7 separate regions of the Homo sapiens genome follow, and regions 1, 2, 4, 5, 6 and 7 are each linked to region 3. Evidence: promoter capture Hi-C in 16 types of primary human blood cells and fetal thymus (Javierre and others, 2016). All regions are on one chromosome and are shown on one strand. The core of a region is centred on a gene start or on the middle of the fragment in contact, and the rest is flanking DNA. Distances in the headings are between cores, read along the strand shown.

The links. The method cuts DNA at HindIII sites, captures the fragments that hold promoters and counts their contacts. A CHiCAGO score of 5 or more calls a contact.
Region 1: a fragment that was not itself captured here is called in contact with the fragment with the promoter of TEP1 in region 3 in 10 of 17 cell types (naive B cells, naive CD8 T cells, megakaryocytes and 7 more); the score reaches 11.8 in naive B cells.
Region 2: a contact is called between a fragment that was not itself captured here and the fragment with the promoter of TEP1 in region 3, in 17 of 17 cell types (naive CD4 T cells, naive B cells, megakaryocytes and 14 more). The highest score is 18.2, in naive CD4 T cells.
Region 4: a fragment that was not itself captured here is called in contact with the fragment with the promoter of TEP1 in region 3 in 16 of 17 cell types (megakaryocytes, naive CD4 T cells, naive CD8 T cells and 13 more); the score reaches 26.4 in megakaryocytes.
Region 5: a fragment that was not itself captured here is called in contact with the fragment with the promoter of TEP1 in region 3 in 9 of 17 cell types (naive B cells, non-activated CD4 T cells, total CD8 T cells and 6 more); the score reaches 6.8 in naive B cells.
Region 6: a fragment that was not itself captured here is called in contact with the fragment with the promoter of TEP1 in region 3 in 13 of 17 cell types (naive B cells, naive CD8 T cells, erythroblasts and 10 more); the score reaches 12.2 in naive B cells.
Region 7: a contact is called between a fragment that was not itself captured here and the fragment with the promoter of TEP1 in region 3, in 13 of 17 cell types (naive B cells, naive CD4 T cells, total CD8 T cells and 10 more). The highest score is 10.1, in naive B cells.

What each region holds. Positions count from the first base shown.
Region 1 is chr14:20,572,717-20,575,416 of GRCh38, reverse strand. No RefSeq gene overlaps it. Among named protein-coding and RNA genes, the nearest start is that of RNASE9, 13 kb to the right of the region's middle. The HindIII fragment of the contact is 1,475 bases long and covers 526-2,000 here.
Region 2 is chr14:20,616,413-20,619,441 of GRCh38, reverse strand. It overlaps the pseudogene RPS26P9. Among named protein-coding and RNA genes, the nearest start is that of TRT-TGT3-1, 4.1 kb to the right of the region's middle. The HindIII fragment of the contact is 1,926 bases long and covers 798-2,723 here.
Region 3 is chr14:20,412,083-20,414,782 of GRCh38, reverse strand. It overlaps TEP1 (telomerase associated protein 1), which reads left to right and starts at 1,282. Exons shown (of 55, transcript NM_007110.5): 1 at 1,282-1,378. RefSeq lists enhancers at 1,079-1,128, 1,629-1,698, 2,249-2,418, 1,528-2,444. The HindIII fragment of the contact is 9,686 bases long and covers 1-2,700 here.
Region 4 is chr14:20,600,301-20,603,093 of GRCh38, reverse strand. RNASE11-AS1 (RNASE11 and RNASE12 antisense RNA 1) reads right to left here. Exons shown (of 5, transcript NR_122043.1): 4 at 312-431. Among named protein-coding and RNA genes, the nearest start is that of TRP-AGG2-5, 7.7 kb to the left of the region's middle. The HindIII fragment of the contact is 8,760 bases long and covers 1-2,793 here.
Region 5 is chr14:20,652,041-20,655,027 of GRCh38, reverse strand. TRY-GTA5-3 (tRNA-Tyr (anticodon GTA) 5-3) reads left to right here and starts at 1,836; the gene lies at 1,836-1,929. It overlaps LOC124903281 (a long non-coding RNA gene), which reads right to left and starts at 1,716. Exons shown (of 2, transcript XR_007064059.1): 1 at 1,538-1,716. The HindIII fragment of the contact is 845 bases long and covers 918-1,762 here.
Region 6 is chr14:20,635,240-20,638,009 of GRCh38, reverse strand. No RefSeq gene overlaps it. Among named protein-coding and RNA genes, the nearest start is that of TRP-TGG1-1, 3.6 kb to the right of the region's middle. The HindIII fragment of the contact is 1,723 bases long and covers 488-2,210 here.
Region 7 is chr14:20,552,468-20,555,424 of GRCh38, reverse strand. No RefSeq gene overlaps it. Among named protein-coding and RNA genes, the nearest start is that of RNASE9, 7.1 kb to the left of the region's middle. The HindIII fragment of the contact is 1,885 bases long and covers 405-2,289 here.

The DNA.
Region 1 (2,700 bases), core at 14-2,513, 160 kb before region 3:
CTGAAATTTGTAATTGCTCTGGTTCGGTTTCCATTGACTGATTGTTCTCCTCATAAAGGTTTGTGTTTTCCTGCTCTTTTACATGCTTGGTAATCTTTGATTGGATTTCAGATGTTTTGAATTCTACATTGTTGGCTTACCTTGTAGGAATATTTGTATATTCCTATAAATCTTCTTGAGTGTTGTTCAAGGATACGTTTAAGCTACTTGGAACCACTTTGATCCTTTTGGATCTTGACTTTATGATTTGTTAGACAGCTCTGAAGAAGCGCTTAGTCCGGAGTTAATTATCGACCACTACTACCCAGATTAAGGGTGGGTCTGCCTGTCCCAGCCCACTGACTCAAATGTTAATCTCCTTTGGCAACACCCTCACAGACACACCCAGGATCAATCATTTACATCCTTCAATCCAATCAAGTTGACACTCGGTATTGACCATTACAGGAGCCCTGTGCAGATCTCTAAGGTTATGTCTCCATGCAGCTTTCTCATCTCACATGTTCTATCCTAAAGGCTCAAGCTTCTTTGACCTCTCAGTTTCATGTCCTGAACTCAGGTAGTCTGAAGACTCTAAGTTTACTCTTCCTTTACTTTTGCCTAAAATCTCTATAGACAGCAAGCTGAGTGATTGTAGGGCTCACCTTGTTTGGTTCCTCTCTCTCAATGATGAGTGTGTTTCGTGGCCTCAAGTTCAGTGTCTTGAAAATAAGTTTTAATGCTTTTTGTTAGTTTTTTTATGGTTTTGGATGGGGAAGTAAATCAGGTCTGTGTTATCCATCTTGGCTGGAAGATGTTCCCAGTCTTTTTTTTTTTCCTTTCTTTTTTAATTAATACATTATAATTGTATCTACTTATGAGATACACTGGATACTTCGATACATGCATACAATGTGTAATATCAAATTAGGGTAACTAGGATATCCACTACCTCAAACATTTATCATTTCTTTGTGTTGGGAACATTCCAAGTCTTTTCTTCTAGCTATTTTGAAATGTACAATAAATTATTGGTAACTATAGTCACCCTACTATGCTATTGAATGCTAGAAATTATTCCTTCTACTTAACTGTATTTTTTCTACCCATTAACTAGCCTTTCTTACCCCTCCTTTCCCACCCTTTCCCAGTCTCTGGTAACCATCATTCTACTTTCTACCTCCATGGGATCAACTTTTTGAGCTCCTGGATATGAATGAAATGTACAATATTTGTCTTTCTGTGACTGACTTATTTCACTTCACATAATGACCTCCAGTTCCATCCATGTTGCTGCAAATGACAGAAGTTCATTGTTTTTTTTATGGCTGAATAGTATTCCATTGTTTATATATATTACATTGTCTTTATTTGTTAATACATTGATGGGCACTTAGGTTAATTCTATAACTGGGCTATTGTAAATAGTGTTGCAATAAACATAAGCGTGCAGATACCACTTTGATATATTGATTTCCTTTCTTTTGGGTATATACCCAGCAGTGGGATTGCTGGATCATTTGTTAGTTTTATTTTTAGTTTTTTAAGGCATCTCCATACTGTTCTCTATAGTGGCTATACTAATTTACATTCCTACCAGTAGTGTATGAACATTCCCCTTTCTCCACATCCTCACCAGAATCTGCTATATATTTTTCTTTTTGATAATAGCTATATTAACTGGGGAGAGGTAACATCTCATTTGAGGACTAAGCTCTGATTTTTTTTTATCTTACCTAAATTCCTATCTAAGGGGTCTAGGGAGTCATGCCCTACAAACCATAAATTATCATCAGATGAGTTTTGTTTAACCCTATATATCGTGACTTACTTTCCAATCTGACTCTGGCATAACATTATGAGACAAGGAAGAAAACAAAGATATTTTACCCCAAAACATGTGTTGGTCAAGGTTCCCTAGAGGGACATAACTAATAGGATTGATATATATATATAAAGGGGAGTTTATTAAGTATTAACTTACATGATCATAAGATCCCACAATAGGCTATCTGCAAGCTTGAGCAGCAAGGAAAGCCAGTCGGAGTCTCAAAACTGAAGAGCTTGGAGTCTGATGTTTGAGGGCAGGAAGCATCCAGCGCGGGAGAAAGATGTAGGCTGGGAGCCTAGGCCAGTCTCGCCTTGTCACATTTTTCTGCCTGCTGATTAGATTGTGCCCACCAGATTAAGGGTGGGTGGGTCTGCCCCTCGCCAAAAGTCAATGTCCTTTGACAACACCCTCACAGACACACCCAGGATCAATACTTTGCATCCTTCAATCCAATCAAGTTGACACTCAGTAACAACCATCACAAGTCCACCGCTTGTCAACTTGAATCCATACGCATCTCCTGAGAACACACATAATCTTCAAATAAAGACAATAATAAGGTTATAATTATGCCTAACATAATACAACTATCCTTCATACAATTGGAAACGCACCAATCTCCAACCCAAATACTATTACATAAAGTTAACAATACTTACATGCTGATATGAAGTCAATAAATCTTATGTCACATGATAAAGGAAATAAAATGAAGATATTTTCTTAGTAATAGTGTATACATGCACAAACATGCATTTAACAAAAGAAGGAGGAAATACTCATGACAGTTACAGTCCTTGTTTCTGCAGCTGGTCACGTGGTCATAGCTGGTATTGATGACCTTCTACTACATATTCTGTATTCTCTTTGCCTTCAGCAAGCACCTCAGC
Region 2 (3,029 bases), core at 511-3,010, 200 kb before region 3:
AGGGATTTCATGGAGTAATCCAGTGAAATCAATCACCTCTGCAAGCTTCAGGTGAAAAGAAATGCAATCTTTGAACTATGGTATGATCAACAGGAATGGAAAGGGGAAGGATATGAGGCATTTTTTATTCTTTGTTTCTGTCCATCCTTCTGGTATCATTGTCCTCCTTCACCTACTCAGTCCCCATAAATATTGTAATAGTCTTGGTGCTTTGGGTTTAAAAAGATCGTGTCTGATGTACAATTTAATTTCTTCTTTGATTTCCCTCTACTGCTTTTCCTAGTCCCTGACTTTAATTCCATAGTGTACCAAGTGCTCAAAACACAGTCAGCTTCTCAGTGAACACACAGGAGTGTTTATAATGGGTTTAAACATTTGAGGCAAGCCAGTGGGGTGCATGTGCCAGGAAGCCTTTTGGGTCTCGGAAATAGAATCTTGCCCACTTCACATCCACCAAATAAATCTGTGCTTATCATTTGATCAGGTTTGGGGAGGAGCAGAAGACAAACAAGAATATTATCCTTGCTCATTGGGAACTTGAATTTGAATAAAAGAAAATATCTTCTCCACCTTTTACAATATATACAATACAAACCTAGAAGAATGAACAAACACACAGAGACACACACTACAGTTAGATGGCAATACAAGTGGTAACTGATAATCACCAGAGTGAGTGTAGCCTCAGTTTCCAGAAGGTAAGATGTCTGTGGAAATCTGAAGAAAACTTTGAGAAAGTACAAATCGAGGCAAGTACGTGTGTGTGTGTGTGTGTGTGTGTGTGTGTGGCTAAAGCTTTGCAAACTCACGTTCCTTGATGTCTGAGATAAACAGTCTATGTATCTTGGAAACCAGTATGCCTGTCATAGGTGTTCGTGGATGTTGTTACAGTGAATAATTGGTTGAGTCCTGGTAATTGTGCCTACTTTTCTGGGATATAAATTCCTGACCTTTAAAAATATTCTATAGCCAATGAAGCTGAAAATTACAAAGTCTTCCCCAAAGGATGACATAATAGTTTCCTTTTCTGAACAGAAGCTCCTTGAAATAGTGCACTGTCATGTAAATAAGTATCAGTCATTAGACTTCATTCTTCCTGCTTGGTTTACTAGAAATTCAGTCCTACCTAGACCCTAGACAATCTATCCTGGAAAATTAGTAGTAGGGTCCTTGACAAAAATATTTAAGCTGAATCTAATCATGAGGAAATAAGTAAATATTGAACTGAATCTTATATGAGGAAATAATCACATTCAGAATGTGAGACTTCCTGTAAGACAACTGCCATGAGAAAAGAAAGTCTAAGAGGAGGGGAATTTTCTAGATTAAAAGAGACCAAAGAGATGTTACAACTAAATGCAGTGAGATATATTGTTAGAATTTACATTATTTTAATAGGGAGTGGGTAAGTGGGGAAATCTGAATATGGACTGTATGTCTACTAGCATATAAGGAATTATAAATTTTCTTGGGTGTGTTATGGTACTAATATTCTGCTCTTGGATAGTACATGTAAACAGGGGGAAGGGTAGGTAAGAAGGATGCAAATGTTCCTAATAATGGGTGTTCTAGTTAAAGGGTATACAGGTTTTACCGTACCGTTTTTTTAACTTTTCCCTAGGGTATTACTATACAAACAGACAGTGGCCAGAACATATATAAAAATAGACCTCTGACCAGCACTAACCTACAACAGCCAGTGCAGGAAGTCAACCCACAGTGACCAGCACAGGAAGCCAGCCCATTATCTCTCTCTCTCTTTTATTTATTTATTTTTTTGAGACGGATTTTCACTCTTGTTGCCCAGGCTGGAGTGCAATGGCACTATCTTGGCTCACCGCCTATCACTGGCTATCTCTGCCTCCTGGGTTCAAGCAATCCTCTTGCCTCAGCCTCCTGAGTAGCTGGGATTACAGGTATGCACCACCACGCCAGGCTAATTTTGTATTTTTAGTAGAGACAGGGTTTCACCATTTTGGTCACGCTGGTCTCGAACTCCTGACCCTCAGGTGATCCGCCTGCCTCAGCCTCCCAGAGTGCTGGGATTACAGGCGTGAACCACAGCGCCCGGCCAGTCCATTGCCTTTAAGCCAGACTTTTAGGAAGTCAGACCACTATCTCTAAGCAACCAGCCCAGGAAGCCAAACAATAACCTCTGTAAAAACCAGACCCAGTGGCTAGGAATTTATGAATAATTAACACCTTTCCTATTATTTGTTTCTGTTTCCAAGTTAGCATCAACCAGAGAAAGCCAAATATGCATCCCTAACCAATCACATAGGATGCCCCGCTTCTAGTTAGCCTGCCCACCGTGTCCCCATGCCACAGTCTCCAGTCAGGGCACACTTGAAGGCTTCCCTTTGTCCACTATAAAGTTTTCCCACTCCTCTGCTTGCCTTTGAGTCTCTGCCAAATCACAAGTGACGTTCTTTTGGGTCCCCACTTCCAAGATGGCAAAGAAAAGAAATAACAATGGTCATGCCAAAAAGGGCCACAGCCACGTGCAGCCTATTTGCTACATGAATTATGCCCTATGCCTACCCAAAGGCAAGACTATTAAGAAGTTCATCATTCAAAACGTAGTAGAGACTGCACCTGTCAGGGACATTTCTGAAGCTAGTATCTTTGACGCCTATGGGCTTCCCAAGTTGTTCGTGAAATTCTGTTACGGTGGGAGTTGTGTCATTCACAGCAAGGTAGACAGGAATTAATCTTGTGAAGCTTGCAAGGACCGAACACCGCCACCCTGATTCAGACCTATGGGTGCTGCCACATGACCCCTACCAAAGCCCATATAAGAAGGTGAGTCCTTAAGGATTGAAGAAAAACTCTCTCTAGAGAAAAATAATATGGAAATTATATTTTTAAAAAATCACAAGTGAAGGCTGCTAACTCCTTTGCTATAGAAAGCTCTGAATAGCTTTTGCTGGTTCTCATTAACTGGTGTTCATTTATTTCCACATTAGGATTAAAGTTTTTCCAAATGAAAAGTTGAGGGGAAATGGAAGAAATACAGACAAACAACAAAA
Region 3 (2,700 bases), core at 33-2,532:
CTTTACGAATTATGTTTCAGAAAAATAAAAAGAGCTTTAAAATATTTGTTATAAAAAGGAAATGTTTTAGTTCAGGTTGCTATAACAAATTACCGTAGACCGGGTGGCTTAAACAACAAATATTATTTCTCACAGTTCTAGAGAATGGAAGTCCAAGATCAGATTGCCAGCATGGTCTGCCTCTGAAGATGAGGGTCTTCCTTGGGATTGCAGATGGCTGTTTTCTTGTATCCTCATATCGTGGAAAAAGAGCTAGCTAGCTCTTCCGTCTCTCCTTATGAGGCCACCAATCCCATTTATGAGTATTCTAAACTCCATGACCTAATGACCTCCCAGAGATCCCACCCTAAATACCATCGCATTGGGATTAGGGTTTCAATATATAAATTTTGGGGAGACACAAACATAAAGACCATTGCAGGGAGTGTTGGGACTGGTGGCAATAGAGGTTTCTAAGGAAGGAAAGGGGTACTGGCTCAGTTAATAGAGGACAGAATGCCCTCAATTCTGAGCGGAAGCTCAGCTGTTACCTGAGACTCAAGGGTACCTCTCTAAGGAAAGCAATGATATTTTCCAGAAGACAGCTAATCTGCTTTATATAAAGGCAGAAAGCATATTTCTCCTGCTACTATGTTTGGTCCTCTCTTTATGAAGCTAGGATTATTAACCTAAGGGTCACTTGTCTCTTTCCTAAGCCTGGTTCCATCTTCCTGGAAAGGGTTCAGCATTAATCATTCAGGATGGCTCCAGATAGATTCTGTGTGATCCACGGATCTCTCTTCTGATCAACAGGAGGGGAGGCACTTGCTCTCAGTTCAGCGAACTTTGATTGACTGATGTCTACACTTGGTTACAGGCGGTTGCTTTCCGCTTTCCGTCTCCTTTTAAGGAGTTCCTCAAAGGAACTTTAGGATGAATTGAGTCTGACCGTCTTTGATATTAGGAAGGAGAGGTGTACAGCTAGGCAGCGAGCATGCTAAAATCTTTTCCAGGAAACGGTGTTTGAAGAGTTAATGGGAGAAAAAAAGACGAAAATTAGCCAGAGGAGACGAATTTGGTAGAGGGGGAAGCCCTAGGGACAGGAGAAAATAGGACCAGAAAGGGAAAAAAAATAGAAACAATAACAAACTAAACTCGGGCCCCAGAAAAGGCGGCAGGGGTCCTGGGCATTCGCGTCGCAGCCCTGGCATGTCGTCTTGCCCGGCCCTCGGCTCGCTGCCCTTCCAGCAGCTGCTGCGCCCCGCCCGGGCCCGAGAGTCTCCGCCCGCACCGTCTCTTCTCAGATCCGCATCCGGCTCCTCCCCCGGCTGCCACCCTTCCCACCGGCAGAATCCAGAGCGAAGTTTCTGCTTCCTGCTGCGGGAATCGGACGCCCCAGGTCAGGCACCCAGGGTTTCCAGCCCCAGTCTAAGGTAGGGTCCGAGCGCAGGCAGAACTTGCCCTGGCCCTGGGTCTAGGGCGCTGGGCTCTGAGGCTGAGAGCTGGGTGGGAAGTGCCTGGCGGGGCCGGTTAGGAACCACCCGAGACTCAGCTAGGGGTGCATCCACCCTGCTCCTCCCGGCGGCTCCGGGAAGGGGAGGGAGTGTATACTGCGTGAAAGGGGAGGTGAGAAAGGAGGAGGAGAAGGCTGAAGGAGAGGGAGGGACAGGAAGAGAGACCACGTAAGAATCATCCCCTCTTACTTCCTTGCCCTGTGTGCCCATCGAAAGGGGACAGTGGCTGTCACCAACAAATGGTAGTATGAGAACCGTTTGTGATAATAGAAACCCAGACTGTGCTTAAATGTGCTAGACTACCATACAGCCACTTGAAGAGTGAGGTGGAGGCCGGGCGCGGTGGTTCACGCCTGTAATCCCAGCACTTTGGGAGGCGGAGGTTGGGGATCACCTGAGGTCAGGAGTTTGAGACCAGCCTGACCAACATGGTGAAAACCCTCTCTACTGAAAATACAAAAAAATTAGCCGGGCATGGTGGTGGGCGCCTGTAATCCCAGTTACTCGGAAGGCTAAGGCAGGAGAATCGCTTGAACTCGGCAGGCAGAGATTGCAGTGAGCTGAACAACAGAGCCAGACTCCGCCTCAAAAAAAAAAAAAAAAAAAAAAGGAAAGAGTGAGGTGGGTATTAATGTGTTAACAGGGCAAGGTCTCTGAGATATACTAAGTGCAGAATAGCATCTAACTTATGATCCTGTTTGTGTAAAGCAAAAGCAAAAGCAGTGGTGATGGTGAAGGCATGTATTTGCATATGCATAGAAACTGTGAAACTGTTAGTATAAAACTGTGAGCAATGTTTACTTCCAGAGAAGGGAACTAGAGATGGAAGTGGGGACGGAACTTTAACTTTCCATTTGTGGTTCAGCCGAATCTCCTTTCAAAAACTCCAGGGTGCAAAACAATAAAATGAGCAAAATAGTGAGACTGTCCTTTTAAGGATAGGACAGTCTCACTATGTTGCTCAAATAAACTGTCCTTATTTTTCTGTTTATTTTTGGCTTGAGATCTCTTTTAAAAAAAATCTGAGTCAATTCTGAGTTTCCCCACTCCTTTCCTTGGGGGCTTATATAGGGCAACGACATGAGCAAAGTGTATTGGGCACAGAAGCCATCATTTTTTACGTGTTTGTCACACTGACGTCCAGTGAGATATTGTTGTCCTTTTTGGCCCTGGATTGTTAGTCATTCAGGTCTTCTTGGAAGTGTTC
Region 4 (2,793 bases), core at 225-2,724, 190 kb before region 3:
GCTGAAACCATCTGTGGTTACAAGTACATCAACTTCAAATGGGTGCCCCTGATCAATTACTTGTAAGTCTGGTGCTTGCTGAATGGCCTGCTTGGCAGCCAGAAAGCCTGTTTCAGCCTCATCATCCCAATCCCACGTAGCTCCCTTTTTTGTTCACTGGTACAACAGTTTTATCATTTGAGTCAAATGGGGCACGAATACCCGCCAATACCCCACGAGGCCCACAACGGTCTGCAGTTGCCTCACCGTGGTGGGTCAGGGGCATGCCTGGATTTCGTCAATGATGGCCTCTGGTATGGCATTTGTCTTACCTGATCAAACAACTCCCAAGCATTTGGCAGACAATCCAGGCCCTTGGACCTTGGATGCATTGACATACCAACCGCACGCTGCCAACTCTTGCCACAAGAGGGGCATTGCTGCTTCTTAATCTGCAAGAGAATCAGAGGTTAACATGACACCATCAATGTAATGAAACAGGCAAACCCCTTTTGGACATTTCCAGGCATCTAAGTCCATGGCAACAAGATCATGACGAATGGTGGGGCTATGCACATAGCCCTGTGGCAGCACAGTAAACGTCCATTGCCACCCTTCCCATGTGAAGACAAATTATTTTTGGCTCTCTGGAGCAATGTCGATGGAGAAGAGTGCATTAGCTAAGTCCACTACAAAGTGGTACTGTCCCAGTTCCATTGTCAGGTGGTCCCTCAAATCCATGGTACAGCTGCATGCAGAGGGGGTGTCACCTTATTCAGCTCCTGGTAATCCACTCTCATCCTCCAAGTCCCATCAGGCTTTCTGACTGGACATCCCAGGGAACTGTAGGGGATATGGATGTCAGGCACTATTTGCACCTCCTCTAACTTCTTAATCGTCTTGGTTATCTCTGTATGCCCCTCTGACAAACGGTATTGATGAATGGAGGTAACCTGTCGGGGTTGTGGCAGAACTTGGGGCTGGTGATATGTATATGCCCACGCAGTACCGGCTTTACTACACGAACCTGGAGTCTGAATTCTCTGGCCGTGGTGTGTAAGTCCAGACCATGCAAAATGTCCACCCCCAGAATATATTCAGGTATAGGAGAAACATACATAGCGTACAGGCTGGAAGCCAAGCGGCCAATTCCAAGATGCAGAGACACAGGTTTCACTTTCACTGACTGGCCCGCATAACCATCAATGAATGCAGCTTTTCCTGGAAACTTATCCGGGTTCCCATAAACAAGACTGCAGTCTGCACCAGTATATACCAGTGCTAGGACCTGCTGTACACTGGTGGGGGACTAGTGGATTCCCAGTTCCACATGAGGCCTCCAGTCGTCCGGCGCCCCCCACCAAGCCAAGCACCTCGGCCAGTTCCCTAATCAAACAGGAAGGGCCCAGTCTCTTCACCAGTCTGCAAATCATCCTTGAGCTGCCGTGTCCCCGCGGGGCTGGGTTGAGCAACAGTATTTTGCCCCCTCGGGTATTTTCCGGAATTGCTGCTGGGGGTACAATTGCCTCCACAGAGCCAACAGCATTCCATTGGGTTTCCTCTCAGTTTCCTCCCGAGCAACCCCGGCTGCAAGTAAATCCATCCACATCTGCATGCGGGTCACCCGCTGGGGTCCCTTTTTATTTCGTGGGGTGGTTACCTGTGAAGGGGGCACCTTCCCCTTCTTTATGGCGCGGATTCCCCAATCCCGCTGATGGCCTTCTGCCTCCTCAAGGGCTGCCATAGCAGTAGTCACTTCATGTATGTGGCACCCCACATATGGAGTAAGAACAGCAGCTAGAGAGCCAAAAGCACTCAGAGGCTGCCAGTCAGCACAAGATCCCTCACGTGGGAGATAAAATGTTCATCATCTGGCCTCTAGGGATTCAGATCCAACATAGCCTGCCGCATGCCCATCTCCAGGAGTACCTGTACCAAATCAGCTATGATTGCCATTGACTCATAATTTCTGGTATCTCTCCAGCATCCTTCCTAACAGTCCATATGGCTGCCATCAGCCACTCAATTAACATGTGATCACCTTGCCCTTGTGCCAACCATCGGCACAGCTGCAGCCACTGATGAAGGGAGGGGTGAGTTATGATAGAAGCCAGCTTCTCCATCTCGGAGGCAGAGCAAGAAACGCTGTCAGCCCCCTCATCCCCAAAATGGGGTAGCCAGGCAGGGGGGGCTCCCCTGGGTGCTCCTTGCATTGCTTACCTAACTCCCAAAACTCAGTGGAAAGAGAAGCACTATAGGAGGTGTATTCCACCACTGCGGGGGGCCTCTGGGCTCTCCCCTAGGGTCCCATCAGCTGCTCATGTTCTACCTTCTGATGGATCACAGGACAAGCCCACAGCAGAGGAGCCTCCTCCTCAGGATCAGACCAAGCGCGAGTGTCCGGCCTGGAGGATGGGCTCAAGGTCATGCCAACAGTTATTTCCAGCTCCTGCTCCAGGCTGTTTATCTGAGCCTGTAAGCACCCTGCTTGCACCTGGAGGTCCTTTACACCCAGGTTTTGCTCCAAGCTGTGCATTTGGGCCCCCAGAGACCCAACTTAGGCCTGAAGGTCCTTTAGCTGTGCCATGTCCCGCAGGGACTGAGCGTATACTTCACGTAGTGCAGTCAGAAATGCCCATCCAACTCTGCTGGCGAAGGTGCACCCCTTCTTGGTGGTGTGAGCTTCCAGTTGCTTCAGTGCCTTCTTCACACTTGTGGGAGACCTGTCCACTGCCTCCCATGTTTCCACTGGGGCGCATCCAAGCAGCGCCTCTGCCACCGGGTACCACAGCTCATGCTGCAGCCACATAGTCT
Region 5 (2,987 bases), core at 91-2,590, 240 kb before region 3:
TAAACTCTGACCGCCGGTGAGCCGGGGGGAACAGAGCCATATTTCTCTTCTTTCAAAAGCAAACGGGAGAAATATCGCTGAATTCCTTTTCTCAGCATGGAACGTCCCTGAGAAAGAGAATGCGCACCTAGGGGTAGGTCTCTGAACTGGCCCCCCCCGGGGCGTACCTGTCTCTTATGGTCGAGATTGCAGAGGTGAAATAAACTCCAGTCTCCCATAGCACTCCCAGGCTTATTAGGAAGAGGAAATTCCCGCCTAATAAACTTTGGTCAGACCGGTTGATCTCAAAACCCTGTCTCCTGATAAGATGTTATCAATGACAATGGTGCCAAAACTTCATTAGCAATTTTAATTTCACTTCGGTCCTGTGGTCCTGTGATCTCGCCCTGTCTCCACTTGCCTTGTGATATTCTATTACCCTGTTAAGTACTTGATGTCTGTCACCGACACCTATTCGTATCTCCCTCCCCTTTTGAAACTCCCTAATAAAAACTTGCTGGTTTTTGTGGCTTGTGGGGCATCACGGATCCTACCAATGTGTGATGTCTCCCCCGGATGCCCAGCTTTAAAATTTCTCTCTTTTGTACTCTGTCCTTTTATTTCTCAAGCCAGTCGATGCTTAGGAAAATAGAAAAGAACCTACATGATTATCGGGGCAGGTCCCCCGATATAGTGACACACACCAGATAAGATCTGAAACATTGTCAAACACATGGGGTCAGGGTAAGCAGTCCAACACTGACACTTCTGTCTTCTACTTCACCCATCCCCTATTTTTTTTTTTTTTTTTTAGACAGGGTCTCTTCTGTCACCCAGGCTAGAATTCAGGGGCATAATCATAGCTCACTGTAGCCTTGAACTCCTGGCCTCAAGCAATCCTCCCACCTCAGCCTCCCAAGTAGCTGGGACTACAAGCTTGTGCTACCACACCCAGCTAATTTTTGTAATTTTTGTAAAGATAAGGTTTTGCCGTGTTGCTCAGGCTGGTCCTTGCCCCTTTGCTTTTTCAGAGCCCACAGAGCCTTGTCCTACTTCTAGAAGTTGCAAGTGGCAAAATATTTCTGATTGGTTTGCAGAGGAGGGAAGCCAACCACCAGATTGGCCCCGAGGGAGGAGGGGTATTACATGTGCCTCTGCAATCCCTGGGAGGGGTCTCCTCACCTAATTCTATTTGTTCTTTCCCTCACTTCCCAGTACACCTCAACGGGCCAATACGTGAACTTAGGATACTGTAGGTAGAAGGCAGAAAGCGCATCGGGAGGAAGAACGGGGGTGGGGGATGAGGGGGTGGGAGAGCAGTGGAAGGTGTAGGGAGGTCAGAGTGTTAGGGAAGGGCCTCATTACCGGCCACCACCAGACCCTGCGGCTCGGCTGGGGTTGGAAGCCTTCTACCAGTGTCCATTCCAGGTCTCCTCCTTTCTCCTCCAGCAACCCTTCCCTCACCGGACCCCCGCACCCTGCATCCACCTCGCCAACCCCTCTGCCTCTCACCCTCTCACTTTTTTTTTTTTTTGCCACTGAGGTCTGTCATCCTCACCTGTAGAAAGGGGGATGCACAGGAGGAAGAAGATAGCAAGTGAGAGCACACTCCCACCACTACCCCCACGCCCCCTACCCGGCTCGCCCCTCATGGGTCGTTGTTATCGATGCCGGGGAAAGCCAGTCAACCACAGCCAGAGGATTTTGTTCCGCCGCAAAAGGAGCGCGGTGGCGATCGGCGCAGGATTATCTCTCTAAGGCGAGTTCCAACCAACTTAAAGCTTATTGGACGACTAGAGTTGCAAGGAGTCTTGCATTTGCTGAAAGATCAATGACCCAACCCCAGAAACGTGCGCCCTTCGATAGCTCAGCTGGTAGAGCGGAGGACTGTAGCCTGTAGAAACATTTGTGGACATCCTTAGGTCGCTGGTTCGATTCCGGCTCGAAGGAGCTGCCGTATTCTTTTGCACACGCACGCACCAAAACTACGTGGCTGCATCTCTGCCTGGTCAAAGGCTTTGCCAGCCAGCATCCACACTCTCCCAGGAGAAACCTAGCAAGGCCTTTCCGGATTACCCAGCTTCCCACAGCCTATGCTGTGGCCTTGGGAGTCTGCTCATTCTTCAAGTCATTGCTTTCTCTACTATCTTCAAATTTTTTATATAATCTGGGATTTTTATCTCCAAGTCATTGATTTTTATGGCCATTAGGTGACACTATAACTGATATTCTTATGAAACTAGATGAAATATTTGAATAACATGTTAGAAAATTGAATTCATGTATATTAAAACAATGTCTTAACAATTATTTACATTTACATATAAGTTCTATTTCTTTCCTTGCTCATAAATTTTTTGCATCTCACTGTTTTGTGATTTTATTTTTTATTTTCAGGAGTTCAACCTTGAGCAATTCCTTTAGAATGCATCCATGGATCTTAATGAAGATATAAGTTCTAGAACACCCCCCAACCAAGTGCCCTCAATGTAAACTCTCTTTTGACTGCTATTTATGCTGAAAATAGAATTGGAGGTATTATGGGCTGAACTGTGTCTTTACAAAATTTAATATGCTAAAGCCCCAATCACCATACACCAGAATGTGACTATAGGATAGCACCTTTAACATGGTGATTAAGTTAGAGGCTGTTAGGGTGTGCCATAATCCAATCTGACTAATACCCTTATAAGAAGAAAAAAATCTGGACACAGAGAGACACCAGAGATGTATGCAAATAAAGGATGAACTGTGTAAGGACAGAGAGAGAAGGTAGCCATCTGCAAGCCAAAGAGAGGTCTCAGAAACCAGTAGCTTGATCTTGGGCTTCAAACCTCTAGAATTGTAAGAAAATGAATTCCTGTTGTTAAAGCTACCCTGTCTGTGGTATTTTATGATGTTAGCCCTAGAAAACCAATATACTAGGCTCAAAATCATTTTCCCTCTTACTCCTGAAGATAACTGACATTGTTCTTGTTACACAGAGTTTTCATTGATGATGAAACTGA
Region 6 (2,770 bases), core at 100-2,599, 220 kb before region 3:
TACTCTGTTGTCCGGGCTGGAAACCAATGGCGTGATCTCAGCTCACTGCAACCTCTGCCTCCCGGGTTCAAGCGATTCTCCTGCCTCAGCCTCCCGAGTAGCTGGGATTATAGGCACGTGCCACCACACCCAGCTAATTTTGTATTTTTAGCAGAGACGGGGTTTATCCTTGTTGGTCAGGCTGGTCTGGAACTCCCGACCTCAGGTGATCTGCTAGCCTCACCCTCCCCAAAGTGCTGGGATTACAAGCGTGAGCCACCGCGCCTGGCTTCGAATTTCTATAAAGGTACCATGACAAGCGTCTTTATTCATACTATTATATGAAATAAATTTGCCTGAAATTTTGGTATGATGGTATGTGTAGATTGAGTGCGCATGTGAATGTGTGCATGCATATAACAGTGATACAAACTTGTGTGTCCATGAAAGTTTGTGATTAAATAAAAGAATAAATAAAAATCTGTTTATTGATATTTATTTCTAAGCTTTCCTTTCAAAGATCTTACCTTCATTGACATGAAATTTGTATTTTGTTTTTAAACATACAGTTAAGACAGAATATACTTAATTTAGAAGAAGTAGAAAATGCTTCTGTTTGCATCATTTTACATATAAAACTCTGAATAAGGCCAGGTGCAGTGGCTCACGCCTACAATCCCAGCATGCTGGGAAGCCAACAAGGGGGATTGTTTGAGCCTGGGATTTCGAGGCTACAGTCAGCCAAGATCGCATCACTGCACTCCAGCCTGGGCCAAAGGGTGAGACCTGGTCTCAAAAATTAAATAAATAAATGAAGCTCTTAATGACATCATTGATAATGACAATGATGCTAAACTCAGCAAGCATATGTTACTCTTTATACTTACCTCAGCAGAGTTTGGCACAACTGATCTTGTCCTCTTATTTGAAATAGTCAATGTGTTCTTTGTTATTTATTTATTTTATTTCAATTGTTTTGGGGGAACAGGTAGTTTTTGGTTACATGAAGTTCTTTAGCGGTGATTTCTGAGATTTTGGTGCACCCATCACCCGAGCAGTGTATACTGTAGGCAATATGGAGTCTTTTATCTTTTAGTGCCCTCCCACCATTTCCCCAAGTTCCCAAAGTCCATTATTTCCTCCTTATGCCTTTGCATCCTCATAGCTTAGCTCTCACTTGTAAGTGAGAACATACAATATTTGGTTTTCCATTCCTGAGTTATTTCACTTACAATAATGGTCTCCAACTCCATCCAATGCCATTATTTTGTTTCTTTTTATGGCTGAGTAGTATTCCATGGTGTATATGTACCACTTTATTTTTGTTTTTTTGAGCCGGAGTCTCACTCTGACACCCAGGCAGGAGTGCAGTGGCACGTTCTTGGCTCACTGTAACCTCTGCCTCCTGGATTCAAATGATTCTCCTGCCTCAGCCTCGCGAGTAGCTGGGATTACAGGCATGCACCACCATAGCTGGTTAGTAGAGACAGGGTTTCACCATGTTGGCCAGGCTGGTCTCTAACTCCTGGCCTCAAGTGATCCACCCACCTCCATCTCCCAAAGTGCTGGAATTACAGGCGTGAGTCACCATGCCCGGCCAATATAGCACATTTTCTTTATCCACTCATTTGTTGATGGACATTTATGTTGCTTCCATATTTTTGCACTTGCAAATTGTGCTGCTGTAAATAAACATGTGTATGCAAGTGTCTTTTTCATATAATGCCTTCTATTCCTTTGGGTAGATACTCAGTCGTGGGATTGGTGGATTGAATGGTAGTTCTACTTTCAGTTCTTTAAGGAATCTCCATATTGTTTTCCATAGTGGTTGTACTAGTTTACATTCCCACCAGCAGTGTACAAAATGTTCCTTTTTTTACCACATCCACCCCAACATCTATTATTTTTTGATTTTTAAATTATGGCCATTCTTGCAGGAGCAAGGTGGTATCTCACTGTGGTTTTAATTTGCATTTCCCTGATAATTAGTGATGTTGAGTATTTTTTCATGTTTATTGGCCACTTGTATATCTCCTTTTGAGAAATGTCTATTCATGTCCTTTGCCCACTTTTTCATGGGATTATTTACTTTTTTCTTGCTGATTTGTTTTATTTCCTTGTAGATTCTGGATATTTGAATCCTGTGTTGGATGCATAGTTCGTGAATATTTTCTCTCACTCTGTGGGTTGTCTTTTACTCTGCTGATTATTTCTTTTGCTATGCAGAAGCTTTTTAGTTTAATTAGGTCTCATTTATTTTTGTTTTTGCTGCATTTGCTTTTGGGTTCTTGGTAATGAATTATTTGCCTAAGTCAATGTTTAGAAGAGTTTTTCTGATGCTATCTTCTAGAATTTTTATGATTTCAGGTCTTTGATCCATCTTGAGTTGATTTTTGTATAAGATGAGAGATGAGAATCCAATATCATTCCTTTACATATGGCTTGCCAATTATCCCAGCACCATTTGTTGAATAGGGCGTCCTTTCCCCACTTATGTTTTTGTATGCTTTGTCAAAGATTAGTTGACTGTAAGTAGTTGGTTTTTTTTCTGGGTTCTCTATTCTGTTACATTGGTCTACATGTTTTGTTTTGTTTTACTGGTACCACGCTGTTTTGGTAACTGTAGCCTTGCAGTATAGTTTGAAGACAGGTAATGTGATGCCTCCAGATTTGTTCTTTACACTTAACTTTGCTTGGGGGCTATGCAGGCTCTTTTTTTGGATTCATGTGAATTTTAGGATTTTTTTTTCTAGTTCTGTGAAGAATGACGATGGTATTTTTATGGGAATTG
Region 7 (2,957 bases), core at 98-2,597, 140 kb before region 3:
GTATTTTTAGTAGAGACGGGGTTTCTTCATGTTAGTCAGGCTGGTCTCGAACTCCCGACTTCAGGTGATACGCCCACCTTGGCCTCCCAAAGTGCTGGGATTACAGGCTTGAGCCACTGCGCCCGGCCTTCTTCAAACTTCTTAACATCTTGTTATTATTACTGCTTAAAACTTTCTGAAACTGGGGTAAAGAGTAGTAATGGGGGATGGTAGTGAGGCATCCATTGCTCTTTGCATGCTTTACCCCAGTCCAGTCTGTTAGTCTCCTCCCATTCCTTACCCCTGTCTTTATACTCAGAGCTGAGCTCCTAATTTATCAATAGGTTGATGTAAGTAAGGGCCTAGAACGAAGGACGGCTAGACTCCATTTTAGTGTCTAAGGGAGGAACACAGGAAATCAAGCTTCTAGGCACTTGTGATGGTTGATTTTCTGTGTCAACTTGACTGGGTTAAGGGATGCTCAGATACCTGGTAAAACGTTTTTTTCTAAGTGTAAGTGTGAGAGTGTTTCTGGAAAAGGTTAGCATTTAATCCATAGACTGAGTAAAGATCTCCCTCACCCATGCAGGTGGGCATCGTCCAATCTGTTAAGGGCCTAAATGGAACAAAAAGGCAGAGCAAGGGCAAATGGACTCTCTCTGCTTGAACTGAGACGTCCATCTTCTCCTGCCCTTGGACATCAGTGCTTCTGGTTCTTGGACCTTTATATTCAGACTAGAACTTATGACACTGGCTCTCCAGATTCTCGAACCTTTGGGTTTGGACTGGAACTCCATCACCAGCTTCCCAGCTTGCAGATGGCAAATTGTGGGGCTTCTCAGCCTCAGTAATTGTGTGGGCCAATTCCACATGACAAATCTCTTTCCATGTATCAATATATGCTCTATTAGTTCTTTTTCTCTGGAGAACCGTGACTAATAACAGCACCAATCTTCATTTGGAGGCACATGGCTTTTCATTGAAATGTCTGAGTGAATAAGGTACCATCCAACTTTTAGAAATCTCCATGACACCTTCTAAAACCCAACCTTTTGTACATGAGCTGAAGAAATTCTGCACATGGGCTAGCCTGGCTATGTTCTACAGACCATCTCTCTGGGTCATGTTCATCTCATTGATCTTGGAGGTTATACAACATAAAATATAAAATATATTTATAAGAATATGGCCAAGCGCAGTGGTTCACGCCTGTAATTCCAGCACTTTGGGAGGCTGAGGCAGGCGGATCACCTGAGCTCAGGAGTTCGAGACCAGCCTGGCCAAAATGGCGAAAACCTGTCTCTACTAAAAATACAAAAATTAGCCAGGCGTGGTGGCCCGTGCCTGTAATCCCAGCTACTCAGGAGGCTGAGACAGGAGAATCACTTGAACCTGGGAGGTGGAGGTTGCAGTGACCCGAGATTGCGCCACTGCACTCCAGTCTGGGTGACAGAGAGAGACTCCATCTCAAAAAAAAAAAAAAGAAAAAAAGAAAGATATGGTATAGTACAATAACTAAGACATGAAAACAATCACAATGAACTTTTCTCTCTCCAGAATAGAAAATCCGATCCAAATGCCTTTTAGAATTAGAATCATAGAAATAGAATGAGGCTCATTTGCACAGATTTCCCCCGTAGTCTAATATTGCACAAGAAACCAAGATCCTGGCCCCTATCCACCAGATTCCCTATGGTAAGTCCAAGCTGTAATTTCAGCTTCACTGATTATAATATTTCAAATAGTTATTGTCCAACATATATTAACACTCTATCCTCAATAATATCAAACTTCATTGTTAAAATGAACATTGTACACAACTTTGACTCACATAACAATTTATTATTTATGCTAGCGTTCCTTGAGATGATACCCCATTAATTATTTCAATTGTAATAAAATATACATGACATAAACTGACCATTTTAATCATGTTAAGTGTGCAGCTCAATAGCATTAGGTATATTCACATTGTTGTGCAACCATCACTGTGATCCATCTCCAGAACTTTTTTCATCTTACAAAACTAAAACTCTCTACTCACTTAAATAATAATTCCCCTTTCATCCTTTCCACCAGTTTCTGGCAACCACCATTCTCCTTTCTGTCTCTATGAATTTGACTGCTCCAGATACCTCATATAAGTAGACTCATACAGCATTTGTCCTTTTGTGACTTGCTTATTTCACTTGGCCTGATGTCTCCAAGTTTTACTCATGTGTCATAATTTTCTCCTTTTTGAAGGCTCAATAATATTCCATTGTATGTATATAACACATTTTGTTTATCCATTCATCCATTGAGGAAGCTTTGGTTGTTTTCACCATTTGGCTACTGTAAATGATGTTGCTATGAACATTGACAAACAAATATCTGTTTGAGTCCTTGTTTCCCATTTTTTTTTTTTTTTTGGTGTATATACGCATAAGTGGAATTGCTGGATCATATGGTAATTCTTTTTTTTTTTTTTTAAGAAACTACTATACTGTTTTCCACAGTGGCTGAACCATTTTACATTCCAATCAGTAGTGCACTAGGGTTCCAGTTTCTCAAAACCCTCATCAATACTTCTTTTTTTAATATCTAATAGCAATTTCAATGGATATGAAGTGGCGATGCAACACTAACTTTAAATTATACTTACTCAGTGAAAGAATGTAGGCAAAGCATTCCCAAGAGTAAGAAAAACTATAAACACAGCATTTTGTTTCCTAACCAGAATAAACCCAATTGGTATTCTCTTTGAAAATTTCTGATGTCTATGATGTTATTGATTAAGTAAATAGGAGAAAAGTCTAGCCCAATGAACAGACAGCACAGTTGCTCCCGTCCCTTTGTGTTAGTGGAAGTTGCGAGACAAAGTAGTAAATGCCATTTTTGCTCATTTCTGCTTGCCAGCATAATTTCACAAAGCCCCTCACTCTATGACAACCTGCAGCTCTTTGAGAAGAATGTTTGAAGATACCACAGAATAGAGT